2 separate regions of the Homo sapiens genome follow, and region 2 is linked to region 1. Evidence: promoter capture Hi-C in human tissues and cell types (Jung and others, 2019). All regions are on one chromosome and are shown on one strand. Each heading gives the region's core, a stretch centred on a gene start or on the middle of the fragment in contact. The rest is flanking DNA. Distances are from core to core; before and after follow the strand shown. Region 1 overlaps LOC101928391 (a long non-coding RNA gene). Region 2 holds the start of FGR (FGR proto-oncogene, Src family tyrosine kinase).

What was found. Contacts are between HindIII fragments. The study calls those that stand out against the background at their distance.
Region 2: a contact is called between the fragment with the promoter of FGR here and a fragment that was not itself captured in region 1, in 1 of the 25 tissues and cell types used here (psoas muscle).

What each region holds. Positions count from the first base shown.
Region 1 is chr1:27,032,972-27,037,539 of GRCh38, reverse strand. LOC101928391 (a long non-coding RNA gene) reads right to left here. Exons shown (of 8, transcript XR_007065559.1): 2 at 3,947-4,080. Among named protein-coding and RNA genes, the nearest start is that of TENT5B, 22 kb to the right of the region's middle. RefSeq lists an enhancer at 2,133-2,634. The HindIII fragment of the contact is 4,027 bases long and covers 104-4,130 here.
Region 2 is chr1:27,632,898-27,637,465 of GRCh38, reverse strand. It overlaps FGR (FGR proto-oncogene, Src family tyrosine kinase), which reads left to right and starts at 2,281. Exons shown (of 13, transcript NM_005248.3): 1 at 2,281-2,401. RefSeq lists an enhancer at 98-157 and a silencer at 3,156-3,205. The HindIII fragment of the contact is 29,896 bases long and covers 1-4,568 here.

The DNA.
Region 1 (4,568 bases), core at 868-3,367:
CATGGAGAAACCCCGTCTCTACTAAAAATACAAAATTAGCCAGGCATGGTGATGCACGCCTGTAATCCCAGCTACTCGGGAGGCTGAGGCAGGAGAATTGCTTGAACCTGGGACGCAGAGGTTGTAGTGAGCCAAGATCACACCATTGCACTCCAGCCTGGGAGACAGAGAGAGACTCCATCTCAAAAAAATAAATAAATAAATAAATAAATAAATAATTTATATAATAGTCACTTTGTGCCAGGCATTGCTCTGACACTTTACAAATTTCAACTCACTGATTTAAACCTCCTGAGATAGGTACTACTATTGCTCCCATTTTACAGATTAAAAAAACTGAAGCAGAGTTAAGTAGCTTACCCAAGATGACACAACTAGTTAGTGACAGAGCTGGGATGTAACAAGGGAGTCTGAGCTCTTAATCTTGGTGCTCTTTGGCCCTAAGTGCTTCACCCTGTTCTAAAAACCTTCCCTGCCCGCCCTGGCCAGGCTGAAGAAGACTCTGCTCTTTTTGTCTGTCATTTGGAAAAGGGCCTCCAGAAGTCAGTCCCTTGTCTTGGGATAGAAATGCCCCCACTGACCTTGTCCAGGGCCTCCCATCCCCCCCAGTCAGGAAGTCCTTCCTGTTGTCTGACTTGAATCTGGGCTGAGGCAGCAGTTCCCAGGGAAGAACCTCTTCAGCTGGGATACCTGGTGGGAGGGGCCTCAGGAGATATGGTGGAGGAGGGAGGGGGCTCAACCCTGAACTCTCAGAGAGTGGAATTTGGGGGGCAGGTTCTGGGCATCTGAGTGGTGGCAGAGCTCTGGGGCAGGAAACCCTGTTAGCTCCTCTCCAAAGGGATCTTGCTTTCCCCACCCCTCCATAACTGCACCAGCGACTTCTCAAACTACCTCCCAAGCTCAGATAAAAGCAGGAACGAAGGAAGTGACAGCATTGGACAGGCCAAGCCTGCTGCAAGACATCTGGATATCACTGTCACCATCAGACACCACATTGGCAACTGCTACCAAAGACCACTTTTCTTTCCTTTTTTTTTTTTTTTTGAGACAGAGTCTCCCTCTGTCACCCAGGCTGGAGTGCAGTGGCGCGATCTCAGCTCACTGCAACCTCAGCCTCCCGGGTTCAAGCAATTCTCCTGCCTCAGCCTCCCAAGTAGCTGGGATTACAGGCATGCGCCACCACGCCCGGCTAATTTTTTTTTTTTTTTTTTGTATTTTCAGTAGAGACAGGGTTTCACCATATTGGCTGGGCTGGCAAAAGCCTCCTTTCTAAGTGAATTCTTACCCTCCTGTCTTGGCATCACTCACTCCAAGCCCTGGGCTACGCCCCTTGGCCGCCCCAGGTTATGTGCCCATGTCCTCTCTGCCAGGGAGTAGGAAGAGGGGTCTGTGGTCCCCTCCAGCTTCTATAGTGGGCAATAGGGCCCAGATGTCCATCAAGACTCATGTAGTGGGGGCTCCTCCCCAAAGAGAAAGGGGCTTTGAATGTAATGGGAAGACAGGAAGGGCTGTCCTTTGATAAGAGGAGGAGTTCGTCCTCAGGAGTGAGGGAGGAAGGAGGAAATGGGCACAAGGCAGACAGAAAACAATGAAAGTCCTGCTCAGAGAGGAAGCCCGGGGGCCGGGATACACATAGAAGCTGGAGGAAATGCTGCCCTCTGTACCAAAAGCAAATCAAAGTTGGAGGCGCCCGGACCTCTCAACCCCAGGAGGCTCAAAGCCCCTTGAGCTCACCCAGCAACCTCTGCTGCCCCCCACCACAGGGGCACCTGCAGAGCACTAGCCCCTCTTTCATACTCTGGCCCAAATGTTGGGGGGAAGCTTGGCCCATTCCCTTTAGAGCCCGGTGGAGAGAAGAAACCAGGCTTGGACCTGCAAACAAGATGTTAGCAATGGCCCAGGGACAACAAAGGGGAAATAAACACAGACATGTACTATATATTCCATGTGCATTTATCTGGTACCAGCCAGATTCCAGGTACCACAGACAATGAGCACGCTGCCCTCATGGAGCTTACACTCTAGTGGGGAAGACCCTGAAACAAGTCACACTGCAGTAAACAAGGTGACCCATCAGTGCTGGGCTGACCACAACAAAGGTGAAAACATGGAGAGTAACTGGGGAGCCCCCTTTAGAGGGAAAGGTCAGGGAAGGGCTCTTTGGGCCAAGACTGGGACGATGAGTAACCAGACACGCAGAGACTGGGAGGCAACTGTGGGCTCCAAGTCCCTGAGGTAGGAACAAGCTTGTTGTGCTTGTAGAACAGAAAAGGGGCCAATCGAAGCTGAAACACAAGGAGCCGGGGGTGGAAGGGGGAGATGAGGCTAAAGTCATCCCGTAAAGAATCAGCATTTTATTCCAGCCAATGGGAAGTCACTAAGGACTGTCCTTTAGGCCTGGCGTGGTAGCTCACGCCTGTAATCCCAGCACTTTGGGAGGCAGAGGCGGGAGGATCACTTGAGGTCAGGAGTTCGAGACTAGCCTGGCCAACATGGTGAAACCCCATCTTTACTAAAAATACAAAAAGATTAGCTGGGCGTGGTGGTGCACACCTGTAATCCCAGCTACTCAGAAGGCTGAGGCAGGAGAATTGCTCGAACTTGGGAGGCAGAAGTTGCAGTGAGCTGAGATCGCGTCACTGCACTCCGGTCTGAGCTAGAGAGCAAGACTCCGTCTCAAAAAAAAAAAAAAAAAAAAAAAGACTGTCCTTTGATAAGAGGAGGGACCCAACCTCAGATGTGAGTCAGGAAGGAGAAGAAGAAGGGCACGGTGCAGGTAGGAATACAGATTACACCATGGAAAGGTGAGCGCGTCCCACAGCTGGGCTCCTGTCTCCTCAATGCAGCATGAGGCCAGGTCATCACTGCACAGTGGAGGAAGGGGAGAGTGGCAGGAGATGTGTTCATTAGGTCACATCAGGTTTCCAGTTTCCTGCATAGAGCCACAACACAGCCCTGAGGACCCTGGGCCCTAATTGGCCCTCATACCCCTGGGCACCTGGCCGTGTCCCTTGAGTGACAGAGGCATTTACTTCACTGGCCTCTTCTCCCCGTCACTGAAAACACACCAGTAACTGAAGCTTCAACCATCACAATCACAATGTCAACTATAGCCACAATCATAATCACAGTCACACCAACAGGCACAAGGGCAGGACAGGAAGTCCTCAAGGGTACCCTAACTTGGCAAGCCAGCAGGACCCCAGCCCCTTTCTGGGCCCCGTGGAAGGCAACGGGACTGTCCTGGAACAGGTACGGGGGGTGCTGGAGCCAATTCTGCACATCTCTTCACAACTTCACGTGTAGTGGCGTCATGTGGGTAGCCTGAAATTGACCATGGTGGAGGGCTTTTGGTTATTCTTTCCAGCTAGCCAGTTTACCAGAATCCATACCTCTGGACAGAGCCCTGAGGACAGTTAGAGAAGCTGTGCCCTCCCCGCCCCCACAAGTCCAGCTGCCACTAGAAAGAGCTGGTTGTGGTACCACTTTCTTGTGTAAGCACCAGGACCTTAAGTAGGAACAGTGGAAGGAGATGGCCAGTCATGTTCACAGAGTCCTGGTGGCTGAGCTGTAAGGTGGGGAATGTGGGTCGAGATGGGGAGTTCATCTGCCCTGAAAACCCACCCAGTGGTGAGTCAGAGACCCTGGGCCTCAGCTCGGGGACATCACCTTCACTCAGAGCCTCTGCTCTAGCCCAAGAGCCTAAGACCTGTGGGCTCCAAGACGCCTGCCTAACTCACCCTACTAGAACAAGAATCCTGGGCTGGTTCTGTCCTGGGAGAAGCTAAGAGCTGCTTCTCCCTGTTCCCTGATCCCAGGATGGGCCCTGACCTTGGTCATAAACTGAGCCTGTGCCCAGTGACAAAGATCTCCACCCAGGCCCAGAAAGAGCCCCACCTGTTCTGGGCTAGGCCTCGATGGGGTCACTCACAGAAAACGCACTCACCTCTATCTGATCCTGCCACAGGCCCCAGCTTGGCCCTAGACTGGAGACAGAGCCTGGCCCTTGAGCCCAGACATGCCCAGAGAAGGGCTGGCACAGCCTCTCTCACCTCTGTTGTCAGGGCTTGGGCCTCCTGCCTGGGAAGCAAAATAGTGAAAAACAAAAGCAAGTTAAAACCCACTATCATCTCCTTGCGTTAGTGACACATATCTGTCTTAGGAAATAAAGCATAAAGGCAAAGTGTATTTTCAGAGGCACTAAAACTTCTCCCCTTCCCTGCTGGGCGGGTGCTTTGATTTGGAGTATTCTTGCCCTAACCCCTCCCTCCCACGGTACCCAAACACAGGCCCCAGTTGCTCAAGCAGGAAAGACAGGGAGCTGTGAAAGGCTCAGAAACTTCATCTGAGACCCTAAGGAGTGGGGGTCAGAACCTTATCTGGCTTCTGAGCTTGGGCAAGACCCTTCCCCTCGGTGGGCCTGAGCTTCCCCCTCTGTATAATGGTTTAGACTTCCAGCTCTGGTATTCGAAGTTAAGGATCCTGATGGTGGCCAGGCGGGGTGGCTCATGCCTGTAATCCCAGCACTTTGGGAGGCCGAGGCGGGTGGATCACTTGAGGTCAGTTGT
Region 2 (4,568 bases), core at 1,032-3,531, 600 kb before region 1:
TGTCCTTTGGTTGATTCACGTGTTCCTATACACAGAAAGCCTGCTACTGTGTGCTGGGCCTTGTGTGGGTACTGGAGGCATCTACAAGAGCCAGACCCCTGCCCTTGAGGAAAACATATCCCACACACCCATCCCCCAGGAACCAGTGGTGCCCCAGGCAGAAGATGCTGAGGTTCTGCTGGGGGTGTGGAGTGGGTAGAGGCAGCAATCAGGGAAGGCCTCTAGAGCAGATGCTTGTGAGTCAGACCTTGAAGGATGACAGAGCGAGCATGATAGATTGGGGGGATCCCCCAAGAGCAGGGACCAGTCTCTCATCTCTGTGTTCCCTAAGGCTGGCACCTAAGACACAATTATAAACGTTTGCTTGTTTGCTAATTGAACATGTGGGCCGATGGCCAGGCAGGGAGCATTTGATGGCGGAGGTGATGCTGCCCGGCTAGGGTGAAGCCACTCTTCCAGAGACCCTGCACTGCCACTGGCTCCTCTGTCTTCCTCCTCATCCCTCCTCCCATTTCCTAAGAGAAAAGCATTCTTATCTCCATCCCACCACTCTGTTACCCCAGGCACATTGGGCCACACTTGAGCATGTGTACGCATGCACACACACATCCCCACATGCCCCTGCCCATACAAAGAAACACACTTGCCTGCACACCATGGCCTAGTTGTTGATTCCAAAAGCAAAGTCATCATGTCATTGCTTTCTCTCTCTCTCTCTCTCTCACACACACACACACACACACACACTTCTGTGTTTACGCACACTCTCCCTGCCTCTCACCACATCCCAACAGACACATCCTTCTCCACCAAACAGCCCTCCCCACCACACCTCTTCCTCTCCTGGACAGGAGGGATATTCCGGGTTCTTGCTTTAAGGCTGAAGTAACAGTGGTGGGAGTGGGGACTGAACCCCAGATTGAGGAGGGGTCAGGGATCCCTATCAGACAGAGAGACTGGAACTGATAGAGGATGCTACCGTTTCTCTTTTTGTTTTTAAAAATCTTTTTCCACATGTTCTAAGATACTCAGTTTTTCTTCCTTTTTTTTTTTTTTTTTTTTTTTCTTGAGACGGAGTCTCGCTCTGTCGCCCAGGCTGGAGTGCAGTGGCGCCATCTCGGCTCACTGCAAGCTCCGCCTCCCGGGTTCACACCATTCTCCTGCCTCAGCCTCCTGAGTAGCTGAGACTACAGGCGCCCGCCACCACGCCCGGCTAATTTTTTGATTTTTAGTAGAGATGGGCTTTCACTGTGTTAGCCAGGACGGTCTTGATCTCCTAACATCGTGATCCACCCGCCTCGGCCTCCCAAAGTGCTGGGATTACAGGCGTGAGCCGCTGCACCCGGCCTTTTCTTTCTTTTTTTTAAAAAAAGTCATTTTCTGCAACAAAACCCACATTCTTTTTTTGTGTTTTTTTTTTTTAAGGCAGGGTCTTGCTCTGTCACCCAAGGTAGAGTGCAGTAGCTCAATCACAGCTCACTGCAGCCTCGACCTGCCTGACTCGAGGGATCCTTCCACCTCTGCCTCTGCAGTAGCTGGGACCACAGGTGCACACCACCACACCGAGCTAACTTAAGAAAAATTTTTTTTGGTAGAGATGGTGTCTCCCTATGCTGCCTAGGCTGGTCTGGAATTCCTGGGCTCAAGCAATCCTCCCACCCAACCTCCCAAAGTGCTGGGATTACAGGCTGAGCCACTGCCCCCAGCCAGTTACTCAGTTTTTCTAAAACTTGGGTGCCTGGGGGAGGCTGACACCCTTCCCACTCCTCTGAAAGGCAGTTTCCTAAGGGAAGGGTCTTCTGCTGCTCACCACCCTTAACAGCCCTGTGTCCCCAGTGCTCAGCCCCTGAGGAAGGGAAGGCGTGCTGACAGGGTCCATGTGATCCATGTCCAGTGGCTCTGGTGACAGCAGTCTGAAGTCAACTGGCTGTGAGAACTCGAGTAAGGCCAGTCCCGATCTGGTCCTCAGTGATGGAGAAAAGCCCCTCTTAACCTCCAATTCAATGATCCTAAAAGAGCAGGTGCTTCGGGGGTGCTGAAACTGCGCTTTTGGAGGGGGCTTTTGGGAAGGCCGGGCTGGGGACTCAGGTCTGGAGGGTGACAGAGCCGACCTCCCGTAAACCAGGGAGGAGGAAGGTGGGGGCGGGTGGGCCTAGGATCTGGGGGCGCCTCCTCGCTGCGGGGAGCTGGCTTGGGGCTAGGGCGTGACTGTCTCCCTGCCACCATCACCGCCCGCCGGCCGTGACTGCAATAAGAGAAGTCCGAGGCGGCTTCCTCCTCCCTGCCCAGCAGGGGCGGCGGTCAGAGGCGGGCAGCACCCCAGTTCTCCCCGCACGCCGGCACTCGCGGCTGCTGGAGCCCCGGCTGGCTCACCCCGGGGCCGGGCAGAATTGGGCTCCAGGTAAGCGACAGCGTCGGGTGGGGACTGGGCAGGTCAAGCAGTGCCCTCCCCCTCGAGGCTCTGGAGAGAGGACTGGGGGTACACGGGAAGAGAAGCCTGAACCTGGGGGTCGGGGGACACATGAGCAAGGTGACAGCCAAAGGGACCCCAGCCCGAAAAGGCCTAAGGAGGAAAACGGGCGACCTGAAAAGCAAGGCTGATAAACCTGGAGGAGAGGGCGGAGGGGAGCACGGGGGAAGCCGACCAAAGGGACCCCCAAAAAGGTCTAGTGGGTAAAATGGAGGGGACTGATAAGAGTTTAGGAAGGGGGCTGAGGTGGGGGAGAAGGATTAAGGGGAATCCCCAGGACGGTCTGGGGGAGAAACTGAAGGGATCGTGAGAGTGGGACTTTGGGGAGAAGCCGACGGGTCTGATGGGTCCAGGAGAGGGGAAATGGGTGGGGGTGCTGGAGGGAACAGGAGAGGGAGCTGGCGGGAAGGGGGTTGAGGAGAACGACTTCTGGAGGACGGAGAACCTGGGGTGCAATTGCGGGTCCAGGAAGTTCCCCTCTTCCGAGCCGGCCGAAGTCGGGGTGAAGCCCACAGCCCGCAGGGTAACGTTAGCGGCCGCGACCGCGGCCCCGCGACCCTCTCGGCCCGCCCTTGCGGTAGGTTCCGGGCTGCAGGGGACTCCTGCCGGGCGCGCGAGGCGTGGGTCCCCGCTTCCTGGGGAAGTCCCCGCCCTCGGCAGGGACAGGCCTCTCCGGGCGCCCCCTCCGCGCCCGCGGCGGTCTCGGCCCGCGCTCCCCGCTGGATCCGGGAATTGCTGCCGCCCCGACGGAAATCCTGCCTTTGACCGCGAGTGCCCGCAGGGGCTGCCTCCAAGGCAACGAGAGGGCGGGCCGCGCTGGGCCGCCGCGGGGCTCCGGGTGGGCGCAGCCCCCTTTGCTCTCCGCCTTCGCCCCCTTTTGGAATCCTCGGTCTGGTGGGTGGGGGGTGGGCTTCCCGACCGAGGTAGGAGGCGATGCCGCTGTGTTCAGGGATCCTGGGGTGGAGGATCTGCTGTTTGAGAGACCTGGGTTCTTAGCAAGACTGGGCCCTTAATTGCTGTGTGACTGTGGGCAAGTTACAGGGCTTCTCTGGGCCTCACTTTCCTCATCTGAACTATGGTGAGAAATGATCCTTGTGTCCACTCTTCCCCCACGAGAATCAGGTGCAGAAAGCAGTTTTTGCTGAGTGTCCTGAAGGGTTAAGGGCTATCCCTGACTCAGCGAGCCTCCCCTTCACCTTCTCAAAAACATGCAGAGGAGGCCAGCCTGGGCAGCACAGGGAGACCCCCGTCCTGTCTCTACAAAAAAATATAGTTAGCCAGAAGGCTGGAAGTGGTGGCACCTGCTGTAGTCCCAGCTACTCCAGAGGCTGAGGCCGGAGGATCGCTGGAGCCCACGAGTTCAAGGCTGCAGTGAGAGCTCCTGGATGAGAGAGTGAGATTTTGTCTGTAAACAACAACAACAACAAAAAGCATGGAGGGGGACCAGACTGCCCGGCTCTCACTGACAGGGCCTCCAGGGACCAGCACACAGTTGGCGTCTAAATAGTTTATGGCTCTGATGAGAGCCCATACTGGGGAGGTCAGCAGAGTTAAAATCTGTCTCACACCCTCTCTGGTGCTGCATCCAGTTGGCCGCCCCTCGGGTGTGTACTCTCAGGGGCCCTGATGTCCTTGGCATCCTTCCGACTGTGGTGATGATGGGAGAGCAGGACCCTGTTCCCACTTCACAGATGGGAAGATGGAGGTTTGGGAGTTGGCAACCTGCAGGGCCAACAGTAGGGACCAGAATTCCAGGACATCTCGTCTCTGATGTAGCCTGAGCTGAGGCCTGAATCCTTACCTCATCCCTACCAAGTTTCATGTACCCTCCGGGGAGGAGGGTGTGGGGTTTAGGGGCTTCATGACTACTTCCTGTTCCAGTGAGTAGGTGCTCTCACACCCTCCTCCAGTGAGGGTGTGAGTGTTTGTATGTTTTGGGCTCTGAGTGAATGAGCATGAACCCTTGAGCATATGAGTGGATGTTTGGGTGATCTCTGCAGCCACCTGGGGCTGATGTGGCAAAGGAAGTGGCCAGACCTCAGGAGGCTGGGTAGGGAACCCCAGAGCTGGGGAAGTAGGGGCCAGGGCTCTTCCCACG